Linked DNA regions of Homo sapiens: all the other regions are linked to region 1. The links are contacts of gene promoters, found by promoter capture Hi-C in human tissues and cell types (Jung and others, 2019). All regions are on one chromosome and are shown on one strand. The core of a region is centred on a gene start or on the middle of the fragment in contact, and the rest is flanking DNA. Distances in the headings are between cores, read along the strand shown.

The links. Contacts are between HindIII fragments. The study calls those that stand out against the background at their distance.
Region 2: a contact is called between a fragment that was not itself captured here and the fragment with the promoter of ADAMTS17 in region 1, in 2 of the 25 tissues and cell types used here (dorsolateral prefrontal cortex and thymus).
Region 3: a contact is called between a fragment that was not itself captured here and the fragment with the promoter of ADAMTS17 in region 1, in 1 of the 25 tissues and cell types used here (mesendoderm cells).
Region 4: a fragment that was not itself captured here is called in contact with the fragment with the promoter of ADAMTS17 in region 1 in 3 of the 25 tissues and cell types used here (H1 embryonic stem cells, mesendoderm cells and stomach).

The regions. Positions count from the first base shown.
Region 1 is chr15:100,340,273-100,343,589 of GRCh38, reverse strand. It overlaps ADAMTS17 (ADAM metallopeptidase with thrombospondin type 1 motif 17), which reads left to right and starts at 1,615. Exons shown (of 22, transcript NM_139057.4): 1 at 1,615-1,769; 2 at 2,181-2,551. The coding sequence starts at 1,691. RefSeq lists an enhancer at 2,763-3,281. The HindIII fragment of the contact is 7,903 bases long and covers 1-3,317 here.
Region 2 is chr15:99,895,973-99,899,289 of GRCh38, reverse strand. No RefSeq gene overlaps it. Among named protein-coding and RNA genes, the nearest start is that of LYSMD4, 160 kb to the right of the region's middle. RefSeq lists an enhancer at 2,677-2,756. The HindIII fragment of the contact is 3,835 bases long and covers 1-3,317 here.
Region 3 is chr15:99,989,597-99,992,913 of GRCh38, reverse strand. All of the region lies in intron 20 of ADAMTS17 (ADAM metallopeptidase with thrombospondin type 1 motif 17), which reads left to right. Among named protein-coding and RNA genes, the nearest start is that of LYSMD4, 260 kb to the right of the region's middle. RefSeq lists enhancers at 1-155, 156-670. The HindIII fragment of the contact is 5,236 bases long and covers 1-3,317 here.
Region 4 is chr15:100,079,226-100,082,542 of GRCh38, reverse strand. The region is part of intron 15 of ADAMTS17 (ADAM metallopeptidase with thrombospondin type 1 motif 17); the gene reads left to right. Among named protein-coding and RNA genes, the nearest start is that of ADAMTS17, 260 kb to the left of the region's middle. The HindIII fragment of the contact is 5,822 bases long and covers 1-3,317 here.

The sequences.
Region 1 (3,317 bases), core at 366-2,865:
TCAATCACCAAGGTTTCTTGTGCTGCCAGAAAATGCTACTGAGCTGTCAGTCATCTGAGGTTGTTGACCTGGACAGAGGCAAGGGGGAGAAACACAGCCCCAGGCCTGGCCAAGAGCAGGACCTGTGCAGATGCCCCCAGAACTGTAGGTGCCAAGCAGTGAGGGCAGCCCCTTTTGTGGCAAGCCTCTGTGGAGGGTCACTGTTCAGCCTTGGGGTTCATTATATTTCGGGGAAGGTGGCCAGTGTTATAGATTCCTTCAGATGATATGTAATCCTGTGATGAATTTAGATTCCGAGGCTTCAAGCAGCATCCAGCGGGGAACTATAACCTTTCTGCTATGATAAAATGGAAAAGAGCAGGACAGGGAAGGGACGGGAAACCTGAGATTGGTTATGGTTACACTTAATTGTTTTTTTTGTTTTGTTTGGTTTTGTTTTGTTTTTTTGAGATGGAGTCTTGCTCTGTTGCCCAGGCTGGAGTGCAGTGGCACAATCTCGGCTCACTGCAACCTCCACCCCCCGGGTTCAAGCGATTCTTCTGCCTTAGCCTCCCGAGTAGCTGGGACTACAGGTGTGCGCCATCACGCCTGGCTAATTTTTGTATTTTTAGTAGAGACAGGGTTTCACCATATTGGCCAGGCTAGTCTGGAACCCCTGACTTCGTGACCCGCCCGCCTTGGCCTCCCAAAGTGCTGGGATTACAGGCATGAGCCTCTACAAGATGCTATTCAGCAAGCTAATGGAGTCACCTTCCCTGCAGACCTCAGTTATATTGTGGCAGGAAAGGATCAACTCATTCTGTTTCTGGGAGACTCACGTTCAAGGCTAGGCTTTGGGACTTTGTGCCTCCGTTTCCTAACCTGTAACACTGAGTCCTGCTTCCCTCGGGGCGGGGGGATCCTGCTGTTAATAAGAAGCACCAAGCCAGAAATCAGGATCACAAATTCTAGCCTCTGCTCCAACAGGAACTCTCTGGGTAACTTCAGCGTTTTTCCTTAAGCTCTCTCTCTTCCTCAGTTTTTCAGTCTGTAAGAGGGTGTGAGCATGCGTGTTGCACTGGCTCCTGTGGGATTAAAGAAGACAGGAGGTGTGAAGAGTTTGGATAAACGCCGCGGATATAGCCTTCAGGTGCTAACTCAGGTGTGCGGGAAAGTGGACTGGGAGTCTTTGCGGCCACAAACAACTAAAACCTAACTTCAGATGTAAAGATTATATGCAGTTTTGGATGAAACCGCTTGGCCGGGGCGATTTCCGCCCTACCTTCCCGGGAAACTGGGCAGCAGGCTGAGAGAGTTCCAAAATGAGGACAAGCTCTGAAGACCAGCCCCGCATCCTCCAGCTCTTCCAGGGTCCCACGGCTCCGGTCGGCTCCCGCGCGCCACCTGGTGCCGTGTCCCCGCCACTGCCCAGAAACCACGTGTAAGAAAGCGCTGACAACCTAACTACGCACTGTGGTTTCGACCCATCCCAACCAGTAGGGAAGGAGGAGGCGGGGCGGAGGAAAGCGAGGGCCCAATCCCCTCCCGCCTTCCGAGGGGAAGGCGGGGCTTGGGGTTTACCACGTTGGGTTTGTCCGCAGCGCTAATTACTTTTTCCAAAGGCTGGAGGGCTTCACTCCGGCTGGCGCCGCCGCCTAGCGCGCTCCTGCTTCGCCGCCACGGTCCGGGGGGGCTGCCGGTCCCGGGTACCATGTGTGACGGCGCCCTGCTGCCTCCGCTCGTCCTGCCCGTGCTGCTGCTGCTGGTTTGGGGACTGGACCCGGGCACAGGTAGCGCCCCCTCCCACAGCCCTCTTCACCCCGCGTCCTGCGGCTACCTTCCCTCTGCGTTCTCGCGGCGTCCTGGCGGCCCGGGGGCGGCGGCGGGACCGCTGACGGCGCCCGAGCGGAGGAGGCGCGGGCCGCGGCCGGAGTACGGGAATCGGGTGGCTCCGTGGCAGGCGCGCCGCCGCCGGGTCTCCGCTCGCCGATGCGCGGCGCCGTTCCGGGAGGTGCTCGCGCGGCTGCGCCGGAGACCCTCCCCGGGTGGCGCGGGCCAGCGTGGAGGTGCCGGGCGAGGGAAGGGAAGGCAGCGCCGGCTCCGGGTCGCGCTGTCCCCGCGCTGGCGCGGCTGGCGGCCAGCGGGAGGGCGGGCGTCCGGGCGGGCCCCGCCGCGCTGACGCGTCTCCTCTCTCCCCGCAGCTGTCGGCGACGCGGCGGCCGACGTGGAGGTGGTGCTCCCGTGGCGGGTGCGCCCCGACGACGTGCACCTGCCGCCGCTGCCCGCAGCCCCCGGGCCCCGACGGCGGCGACGCCCCCGCACGCCCCCAGCCGCCCCGCGCGCCCGGCCCGGAGAGCGCGCCCTGCTGCTGCACCTGCCGGCCTTCGGGCGCGACCTGTACCTTCAGCTGCGCCGCGACCTGCGCTTCCTGTCCCGAGGCTTCGAGGTGGAGGAGGCGGGCGCGGCCCGGCGCCGCGGCCGCCCCGCCGAGCTGTGCTTCTACTCGGGCCGTGTGCTCGGCCACCCCGGCTCCCTCGTCTCGCTCAGCGCCTGCGGCGCCGCCGGCGGCCTGGTACTGCCCGCGCCACCTCCGGGTCGGCCCGTCCGGTCTGTTGCGACGCAGAGTGGTCGCCGTGGAGGGTGGGGGTGGGGCGCCTCTGCTGGAAGTCCAGCCTCCAGGGGAACCGGAGGGAACCCCCTGCCTTTCCACCTCTCCCCATCCCCCACCCCGGCCTTCGGTACCCTCTATAGGCAAAGGGGGTGGGAGGGGCAGCATCCCAGTCCAGCGCCTCTGCAGCCCGTGGAACCCGCGCGGAGCTGGGGTTGCGTGGGGTATACGCCGCCCGCTCTAGGGAGCGCAGATCTGGCAGGGATGAAACTGTCAGGGCCCTGGACAGAGGCGCCTTGGCCCCAATGTAGAGAACACTGCATCTGCACCGCCGTGTCAAAGTGTATGTCACGGGAGTACCTGTGTACGTGTAGGTGTTATGTTCTTGGACTTGGAGGTGGGGGAGTGGGCATTCACCTCCCTTCCTTTTGAGTCTTCTCTCTGTACCTGGAACAGGAAGTTTGGAGAGGTACCCAGACAGGCCACGGCTCACCCCACTCTTCCTAGCTGAAACGTAAGAAACAGGAGAGAAAGGGTGTTTGTCTTTGCTTCCTTATACTATTAGTAGGCATTTATCTGGTGCCCACCCCCAACCAGGCCTGAGGGGTGTTTACATTGGTGATAAACCCTATTCCTGCCCCCAGGAGCTCCCTTGCTGTGGCAGTAACTTCCCTGCCCCGAAGTTCCTGGCCTGTTGCATTTGAGGCACCCGGAACAGGTGCTCCCAGGG
Region 2 (3,317 bases), core at 324-2,823, 440 kb after region 1:
GGTGGAGTCTTTATGGTTTTCTCTATATAAGATCATATCATCTGCAAGCAGTGACGATTTAACTTTTTTCCTTCCTATTTGGATGCCTTTTATTTCTTTCTCTTACCTAACTGCTCTGGCTAGGACTTTCAGTAACATGTTAAATGAAAGTGGTGAGAGCGGACACGTCCTTATCTTGTTCCTGATCTTAGAGGAAAAGCTTTCAACTTTTCACTGTTAAGTATGATGTTAGCTTTGGGATTGTCATATATGGCCTTTGTTGTGTTAAGGTACATTCATTCTGTTCCTTATTGAGAGTATCTATCATGAATGGATGTTGAATTTTGTCAAACACATTTTCTGCATCTATGGAAATGATCATATTAATTCTGTCTTTCATTCTTTTAATGTGGTAGATAGTATATATTGATTTGTGTATGTTGAACCATTCCTGCATCCCAGGGATAAATCCCACTTAATTATGAAAATTATATTGCTATTTAAACTGGTAGCTTCAAAATTCCTACTGTGTCAGTCAGTTTACCAGCAGAAAGCAGCTGTCACAAACAAATAAAGGTAATTGCAGAAGATTGAATAAAGAACCTATTTACAAAGGGAAGAACAGTGTATAGGAAAAGAACAGAGGTTAGTGAAATGCCCTATTCTAGTGACAGTGGAGCCATTACTGTCTTGGCCAGAACAGGCTAGAGGAGGAGTTTCTGGAACCTAGCATGAGACGTTGTAAGGAAAGGGCCATCTTGAGAGGAGCTTGGGCCTGTGAAGGACACATTCAGTCTGAGGTTACCAGGCAAGAAGCTATCCAGAAGAGTCAGTGCTGGGTGAGTTTCCTCTCATCTTCTGAAACCTGGTGATATGGTTTGGCTTTGTCCCCACCCAAATCTCATCTTGAATTCCCATGTGTTGTGGGAGGGACCTGGTGGCAGGTAATTGAATCATGAGGGCAAGTCTTTCCTGTGCTGTTCTCATGAGAGGAAGTCTCACAAGATCTGATGGTTAATATAAGGGGGAATTTTCCTTCACAAGCTCTCTCTTTGCCTGCTGCCATCCATGTAAGATGTGATTTGCTCCTCTTTGCCTTCCACCATGATTGTGAGGCTTTCCCAGCCACATGGAACTGTAAGTCTAATTAAACCTCTTTTGTAAATTGTCCAGTCTCAGGTATGTCTTTATTAGAAGCATGAAAAGAGGCTAATACAGGAAATTGGTACCAGTAGAGTGGGGCATTACTGAAAAAATACCCAAAAATGTAGAAGCAACTTTGGAACTGGGTAACAGGCAGAGGTTGGAACACTTTGGAGGGCTCAGAAAAAGACAGGAAAATGTGGGAAAGTGTGGAACTTCCTAGAGACTTGCTGAATGGCTTTAACCAAAAGCCTGATAGTGATATGGACAATAAGGGCCAGGCTGATGTGGTCTCAGATAGAGATGAGGAACTTGTTGGGAACTGGAGCAAAGGTGACTCTTGTTATGTTTTAGTAAAAAGACTGGCAGCATTTTGTCCCTGCCCTAGAGATTTGTGGATCTTTGAACTTGAGAGAGATGATTTAGTGCATCTGGTGGAAGAAATTTCTAAGCAGCAAAACATTCAAGAGATGACTTGGGTGCTGTTAAAGGCACTCAGTTTTATAAGGGAAGCAGAGCATAAAGGTTGAGAAAATTTGCAGCCTAACAATGTGATAGAAAAGAAAATCCATTTTATGAGTGGATTGCAGAAATTTGCATAAGTAACTAGGAGCCCAATGTTAATCCCCAAAACAATGGGGACAATGTCTCCAGGGCATGTCAGAGGTCTTCATGGTAGCCCCTTCCATCACAGGCTCAGAGGCCTAGGATAAAATGGTTTCCTGGGCCAGGCCCAGGGTCCCTGTGCTGTGTGCAATCTAAGGACTTGGTGCCCTGCATCCCAGCCACCCCAGCCATGACTAAAAAGGGCCAAAGTACAGCTTGGGCTTTGCTTCAGAAGGTGGAAGCCCCAAGCCTTGGCAGCTTCCACGTGGTGTTGAGTCTGCAGGTGCACAGAAGTCAAGAATTGAGGTTTAGGAACCTCGGCCTAGATTTCAGATGTATGAAAATGCCTGGATGCCCAGGCAAAAGTTTGCTGTGGCCAGGGTGGGAGTGGGGGGCTCATGGAGAACCTCAGCTAGGGCAGTGTGAAAGGGAAATGTGGGGTCAGAGCCCCCACACAGAGTCCTTACTGGGGCGCCATCTAGGGATGCTATGAGAAGAGGGCCACCATCCTCCAGACCCCAGAATGGCAGATTCACTGACAGCTTGTACCATCCACCTGGAAAAGTCACAGATACTCAATGCCAGCCGACAGAAGCAGCCAAGAGAGAGGCTGTACCCACCAAAGCCTCAGGGGTGGAGCTGCCCAAGACCATGGGAACCCACATCTTGCATCAGTGTGACCTGGATGTGAGACACAGAGCCAAAGGAAATCATTTCACAGCTTGAAGATTTGACTGCCTTGCTGGATTTCAGATTTGCATGGGGCCTGTAGCCCCTTTGTTTTGGCCAATGTCTCCCATTTGGAATGGCTGTATTTATCCAATGCTTATACCCACATCTTATCTAGGAAGTAACTAACTTGCTTTTGATTTTACAGGCTCATAGGCAGAAGGCAATTCTCTTGTCTCAGATGAGACTTTGGACTATTGACTTTTGAGTAATGCTGAAATGAGTTAAGACTTTGCAGGACTGATGGGAAGGCATGATTGGCTTTGAAATGTGAGGACATGAGATTTGGGAGGGGCCAGGGGCAGAATTATATGGTTTGGCTGTGTCCCCACCAAAATCTTATCTTGAATTCCCACGTGTTGTGGGAGGGACCTGGTGGCAGGTAATTGAATCATGGTGCAGGTCTTTCCCGTGCTGTTCTCATGAGAGGAAGTCTCACAAGATCTGATGGTAAGGGGAAGTTTTCCTGCATAAGCTCTCTGTTTGCCTGCTGCTATCCACTTAAGACCTGACTTGCTCGTCCTTGCCTTCTGCCATGACTGTGAGGTTTCCCTAGCCAAGTGTAACTGTAAGTCCAATTATACCTCTTTCTTTTGTAAATTGCCCAGTCTCAGGTATGTCTTTATCAGCAGCGTGAGAACTGACTAATATGCCTGGCTAGGTTAACAGAGCTTAGTTTATATGCGGATGTTAATATTTGGTAATGGGTGCTTAAATGTATTGTGAACATGAAACTTGTGAAGACTGTAGTGACGGATCAGTCATGTCTGCTTTCAATATTAGAAGACATAACGGTGTCAAGCTTGCCAAATATTTTCCAGTGTCTTCCCTGAAAACATTATGGTTAGAGAAACTGCAAG
Region 3 (3,317 bases), core at 217-2,716, 350 kb after region 1:
CCCGCTGCAACTACCCAAGACCCCGTGTGCTTCCTCCCCTGCTTCTCCCACAGGCTGCACCAGCACTGCCCCTTGGGGCTCACTGGGAGAACCCCACTGCTTCACGTGCATGCAGAAGGAACCCGAAACGCAGCCCAAGGCAGGACGCGGGTGCCCTGGATGCCAGGCTTGCCATGCTGTGCGGTGTGCTGGCAGGCCCCAGCCTCCTGCCATGGGGACACTTGGGGCAAACATCACTTCCATTCACTCCCGGGACCCCTGGGCAAGGGCCTGGAGATGCAGGGACAGACAGGGCAGGGGGCCATGGGGTGGTAGCAGGGAGGAGTATCACAGAACCGCCGGGTCAGCACTCCCGAGAGCAAGGGTGAATAAAGGGCCACTGAATGTTTCTCCAGGTAAGAAAATGCTTTGTTGTTTAACTCCTCTTTTATTCATTCATCTGATATATTTGAATGATTCCTGTTTTCTGGGGACCAAGGTGAGCCCCACTGCCACCTGTAAGAACCTTCTAGTGGGTTTTCTAGACTCTTCTCACAAAATCTGTACCACTCCTCCTGTAAGCATAGACCGTGTTTGTCCTTCTGTATGGTCTTAGCAACTGAAAAACTCCTGCTTGCTTCTCCTGATAGCTCTTCCCTCAAAGATTGCCAACTGCTGACCTAGAGCCATTGGTTTTTGCTCAGCCTGCAGAATATCTTAAACATGTTGGAATTAGTGGCTAGCATTTTTTTTTTAAGTTCTGAGGTACATGTGCAGAAAGTGCAGGTTTGTTACACAGGTATACATGTGTCATGGTGGTTTGCTGCGCCCATCAACCCATCATCTAGGTTTTAAGCCCCAGATGCATTAGGTATTTGTCCTAATGTACTGCTTCCCCTAGCCCCCCACCCTACGACAGTCCCTGGTGTGTGATGTTCCCCTCCCTGTGTCCATATGTTCTCATTGCTCACCTCCCACTTATGAGTAAGAACATGCAGTGTTTGATTTTCTGTTCCTGTGTTAGTTTGCTGAGAATGATGGTTTCCAGCTTCATCCATGTCCCTGCAAAGGACATGAACTCATCCTTTTTTGTGGCTGCATAGTATTCCGTGGTATATATGTGCCACATTTTCTTTATCCAGTCTATCATTGATGGATATTTGGGTTGGTTCCAAGTCTTTGCTATTGTCAACAGTGCCGCAGTAAACGTATGTGTGCATGTGTCTTTATAGTGGAATGGTTTATAATCCTTTGGGTATATATTCAGTAAAGGGATTGCTGGGTCAAATGGTATTTCTGGTTCTAGATCCTTGAGGAATCGCCACACTGTCTTTCACAATGGTTGAACTAATTTACATTCCCCATGAACAGTGTAAAAGCATTCCTATTTTTCCACATCCTCTCCAGCATCTGTTGTTTCCTGACTTTTTAATGATCACCATTCTAACTGGCGTGAGATGGTATCTCATTGTGGTTTTGATTTGCATTTCTCTAATGACCAGTGATGATGAGCTTTTTTTCATATGTTTATTGGCTGCATAAATGTCTTCTTTTGAGAAGTGTCTGTTCATATCCTTCACCCACTTTTTGATGGGGTTGTTTGGTTTTTTCTTGTAAATTTGTTTAAGTTCTTTGTAGATTCTGGATATTAGCCTTTGGTCAGATGGATAGATTGCAAAATTTTTTCCCATTCTGTAGGTTGCCTGTTCACTCTGATGCTAGTTTCTTTTGCTGTGCAGAAGCTCTTTAGTTTAATTAGATCCCATTTGTCAGTTCTGGCTTTTGCTGCCATTGCTTTTGGTGTTTTAGTCACAAAGTCTTTGACCATGCCTATGTCCTGAGTGGTATTGCCTAGGTTTTCTTCTAGGGTTTTCATGGTTTTAGGTCTTAGGTTTAAGTCTTTAATCCATCTTGAGTTAATTTTTGTACAAGGTGTAAGGAAAGGGTCCAGTTTCAGTTTTCTACACATGGCTAGCCAGTTTTCCCAACACCGGGTATTAAATAGGGAATCCTTTCCCCATTGCTTGTTTTTGTCAGGGTTGTCAAAGATCAGATGGTTGTAGATGTGTGGCATTATTTCTGAAATTTCATTTGAAAATTTAGGTTTTGGCTTCGCTATGAAAATGTGGCAACATGGCTCAGGCAGGTAATTTTGCTTCTGCCTGTGCTTTACGGAAGGAAAAATGGGTTTTCCATTGGAAGGCAAAATTTATCAGAATCTGATCCCTGCAGAAATGCTACCACCTTCCCATCAGCCCAAGTCAGAACACAAAGTTCCCCAAACCCTTTGAGTAAAAAAAAAAAAAAAGCCAAATTTCCCAATTCCCAGTTTGCCTGGTAGTGCTAAGGTACCCTATTATTCTGGATTAACAGTGAATTTGAGAAGGACCTAAAACACCTCCTTCCTATTTACTCCCTGGTCAAAACATCTGACCAAGGCAATAGAACTGAGGCTGTCAGTCCAGTTTCCCCAAAACCAAACAGGGACGTCACACAGTTACTTGGATGTTAATAAAGCTTAGTATGGAGCTGCCAGGATGTATCTTTCACTGGCAGAGAAACTTAACTTCAGAGCTCCCACAAAAGATATGTGTGCTTTGGCTGGGCGTGGTGGCTCACACCTGTAGTCCCAGCACTTTGGGAGGCCAAGGCAGGATTGCTTGAGCCCAGAAGTTCCAGACCAGCCTGGGAAACATAGGGATACCCTGTCTCTACAAAAAAAAATCAAAAAAATAGCTGGGCGTGGTGGCACATGCCCATAGTCTTAGCTCCTTAGGAGGCTGAGGCGGGAGGATCACTTGAGCCAGGGAAGTCGAAGCTACAGTGAGCCATTATTGCACCACTGCACTCCAGCTCAGTCAAGAGAGCGAAAAGAAAGATGCACTTCGAACCATGAGAACTTGAACTCACACAATAGAGACATTAAGGGGCTGATTTACAGCTCTGACTCTCTACTTGTGTGCCTTAACCTCTCTTTATCTCTGAAATGGGAATCATAAACACTGACCCTGCCTGTTTCTCAGAGATGCTTAGAGGTTTCAAGATGCTAATATATATGTCTAAGTACTTGGACAACTAAACCCATTTCATTTCATTGCCCAAAATCCACCACCCAATGTTCACACGGTTCTGGGGCACAGTCCCCAGGGTTATAACCCATTCTGATCTGACCTCACCTTGTCTTATCAGTAGGGCTTCTGGCCTTTTATAGACAACACTGAGAAATTCTCTGTCCAAGCACATCCAGACCTAGCTTGAAAACGGTCACTGATCCTAGCCCAAAGACTGTAGGTGAGCTACCAACAGACCAGGTTCTGATCCATAAGTAACACACTGGC
Region 4 (3,317 bases), core at 387-2,886, 260 kb after region 1:
ACGGTGGTGTGTGCCTGAAGTCCCCACTACTCAGGAAGCGGGGGCAGGAGGATTGCATGAGCTGGGGTGGGGGTGCAGAGGTTACAGTTAGCTGAGATCACGCCACTGCACTCCATCCTGGGCAACAGACTGAGACCCTGTCTCAAAAAAAAAAAAAGACTATCAAAACCATGCAATAAGGCCAGGCACGGTGGCTCACGCCTGTAATCCCAGCACTTTGGGAGGCCAAGGTGGGTGGATCATGAGGTCAAGAGATGGAGACCATCCTGGCTAACATGGTAAAACCCCATCTCTACCAAAAATACAAAAATTAGCTGGGCGTGGTGGCACGTGCCTGTAGTCCCAGCTACTCGGGAGGCCGAGGCAGGAGAATCGCTTGAACCCAGGAGGCGAAGGTTGCAGTGAGCCAAGATTGCACCGCTGCACTCCAGCCTGGGCAACAGAAGCAAGACTCTTGGTCTCAAAGAAAACAAAAAAATCAATAAAAGCAAAGAAACAACAGATGATAGACTGATAGACTGACAATTTTTGCAACATGTCTAGTAAGTAAAGAGTCTGAGTCCAAATATTATCAAATTATAGTAATATATGTTATGGACATTTTTTAAACTACTGCATCATAACTAAATAAAAGATGGTAGAAAAATGGGCAAAGCTTAAGAACAAGGCCATTAACTGAAAAGGGAAAACAAATGGTCAATAAGTGTATAGGACGCTGAGCCTTGTTGGTTATCAGGGAAATGCAAATTCAACTTATGACAACATCTTTTCACCAAATGGATTAGCAAATACTAAGAAGATTGATTTTGTCAAGTATTTAGAAATCTTTGAGTAAACGTTTACTCTCGTATAGTGTTGGTTGGCTTAAATAGTATTTAAACCAAGGTCAACTAAGCAGCACCTGTGTTTGTCTCAGTGATTCTCACAGTAGCTGACCTGGTAGGACATTATATCTATGCATAAGAAGACATGTACAAAGCCATTCATAGAAGTATTGTTTCTTTTCTAAGCAGCTTTATAAAGATAGAATTCACATGCCATATAATTCACCCATTTAAAGTGTGCGATTGAATGAGTTTTAGCACAAGGTCATGCAGCCATGTATTAGGGTTCTGTAGAGGAGATACACACATACATATATATGGGAGTTTATTAAGTAGTGTGTGTGTATGTATGTGTGCATATATATATAGGGGAGTTTATTAAGTATTAACTTACGTAATCACAACATCCCACAATAGGCTGTCCGCAAGCTGAGGAGCAAGGAGAGCCAGTCCCAGTCCCAAAACTGAAGAACTTGGGGTCTGATGTTCCAGGGCAGGAAGCATCTAGCACAGGAGAAAGATGTAGGCTGGGAGCCTAGGCCCACCTCTCCTTTTCATGTTTTTCTGCCTGCTTTGTATTTGCTGGCAGCTGATTAGATTGTGCCCACCAGATTAAGGGTGGATCTGCCTTCCCCAGCCCCCTGACCCAAATGTTAAACTCTTTTGGCAACACCCTCACAGACACATCCAGGATCAATACTTTGTATCCTTTAATCTAATCAAGTTGACACTCAGTATCAACCATCACAAGTCCACCCCAAGTCAACTTGAACCCATACACATCTCCTGAGAACACACATAGTCTTCAAATAAAGACAATAATAAGGTCATAATTACCCCTAACATACTACAGCTATCCTTCGTACAACCAGAAATACACCAATCCCCAACCCAAATACTATTACATAAAGTTAACAATACTTAACATGCTGATATGAAGTCAATAAATGTTATGTCACATGATAAAGGAAAAGGAAATATACTTTCTTAGTACAAGTGTATACATGCACAAACATGTTTTTAGCAAAAAAAGGAGGAAATAATTACAGACTTCATTTCTGCAGCTGGTCACATGGTTGTAGCTGGTATCGATAACTACCTTTTTCTACTACCCGTTCTGTATTCCCTTTGCCTTCAGCAAGCACCTCAGCAAGACGTGGGTTTTTTCTTGGTGGAGTGACCCAAACCTTCATTCCTGAATGGTCTGGGTCATTTGTAGTCCTGCCTGGATTGGGCTGTTGTAGTTTCCCATTGACCTTAGTCACAGGGCATGGTGATACTAAGAGACGCCCTAATGGATCTCCTGTATTCCATGCATACTCTTCCTTACCTCCTTTGTGGAGTAGTAGACTGATTTCATCTTGATAGTCCAGGTCAGTCACCCCAGTCAACACTGTAACTCCCTTCTTGGCCTGTTGACTTAAAGGTGGGAGGAGCCCAAAGTGTCCAGGTGGGTACCAATCTTCCAGTTTAATGGAATCATTGTGTCTCCTGGTGGCAGCATTTCTCCCTCTGGAACTAAGATCTCCAGGCCAGCAGAATGTAATGTCGGGGGAACAGGAAGCAAAAATTTTGCTAGGGGATCACTAGGGGTGATGGTGAGTGGTGTCAGTTCAGTTTCACCCCTTGATTCCTGGACCGTGAATCCTGGCTATGGGAGAAACAGTACCGTATATTGGATGCTAATTCAGAACATATACGGCCTGCTGGAGAACTTTGCCTCAGCCCTGCAAAGTGTTGTCACCTAGTTGGCATTGTAATTGTGACTTCAAAAGGCCATTCCACCGTTCTTTGCAGCCTCTTCAGGATGATGGAGAACATGGTAAGACCAGTGAATTCCATGAGCATAAGCCCACTGCCACACCTCTTTAGCTGTAAAGTGAGTGCCTTGGTCAGAGGCAGTGCTGTGTGGAATACCATGATGGTGGATAAGGCATTCCGAGACTCCACGGATGGTAGTCTTGGCAGAAGCATTTCGTGCAGGATAGGCAAACCCATATCCGGAGTAAGTGTCTATTCCAGTGAGGACAAACCACTGCCGTTTCCATGATGGAAAAGGTACAATATAATCAACTTGCCACCAGGTTGCTGGCTGATCACCCCAAGGAATGGTGCCATATCACCACAGTCATTCCCAAAAGAAACCCCATGCTTGGTAGCAGTCATTCCCCATCTCCCTCTTAAGCCCTAGGTAACCACTCATCTAATGTCTGTATCTACAAATTTGCCTATCTGGACATTTCATGTAAATGGAGTAGTATAATACGTGGTCCTTCCTGACAGGCTTTTTTCCCTTAGCATAGTATTTTCAAGTCATGCATGTTGTCACATACATCAATGTTTCTTTTTATTGCCAAATACTATTCCATTGTTTGGAGATATCACATTGTATAAATACAGTCATTGGTTGATTGGTATTTGGATTGTTTCCACTTTTTTGGCTGTTAGGAATAATGCTGATATAAACTTTTGTGTACGAGTTACCATGTGGAC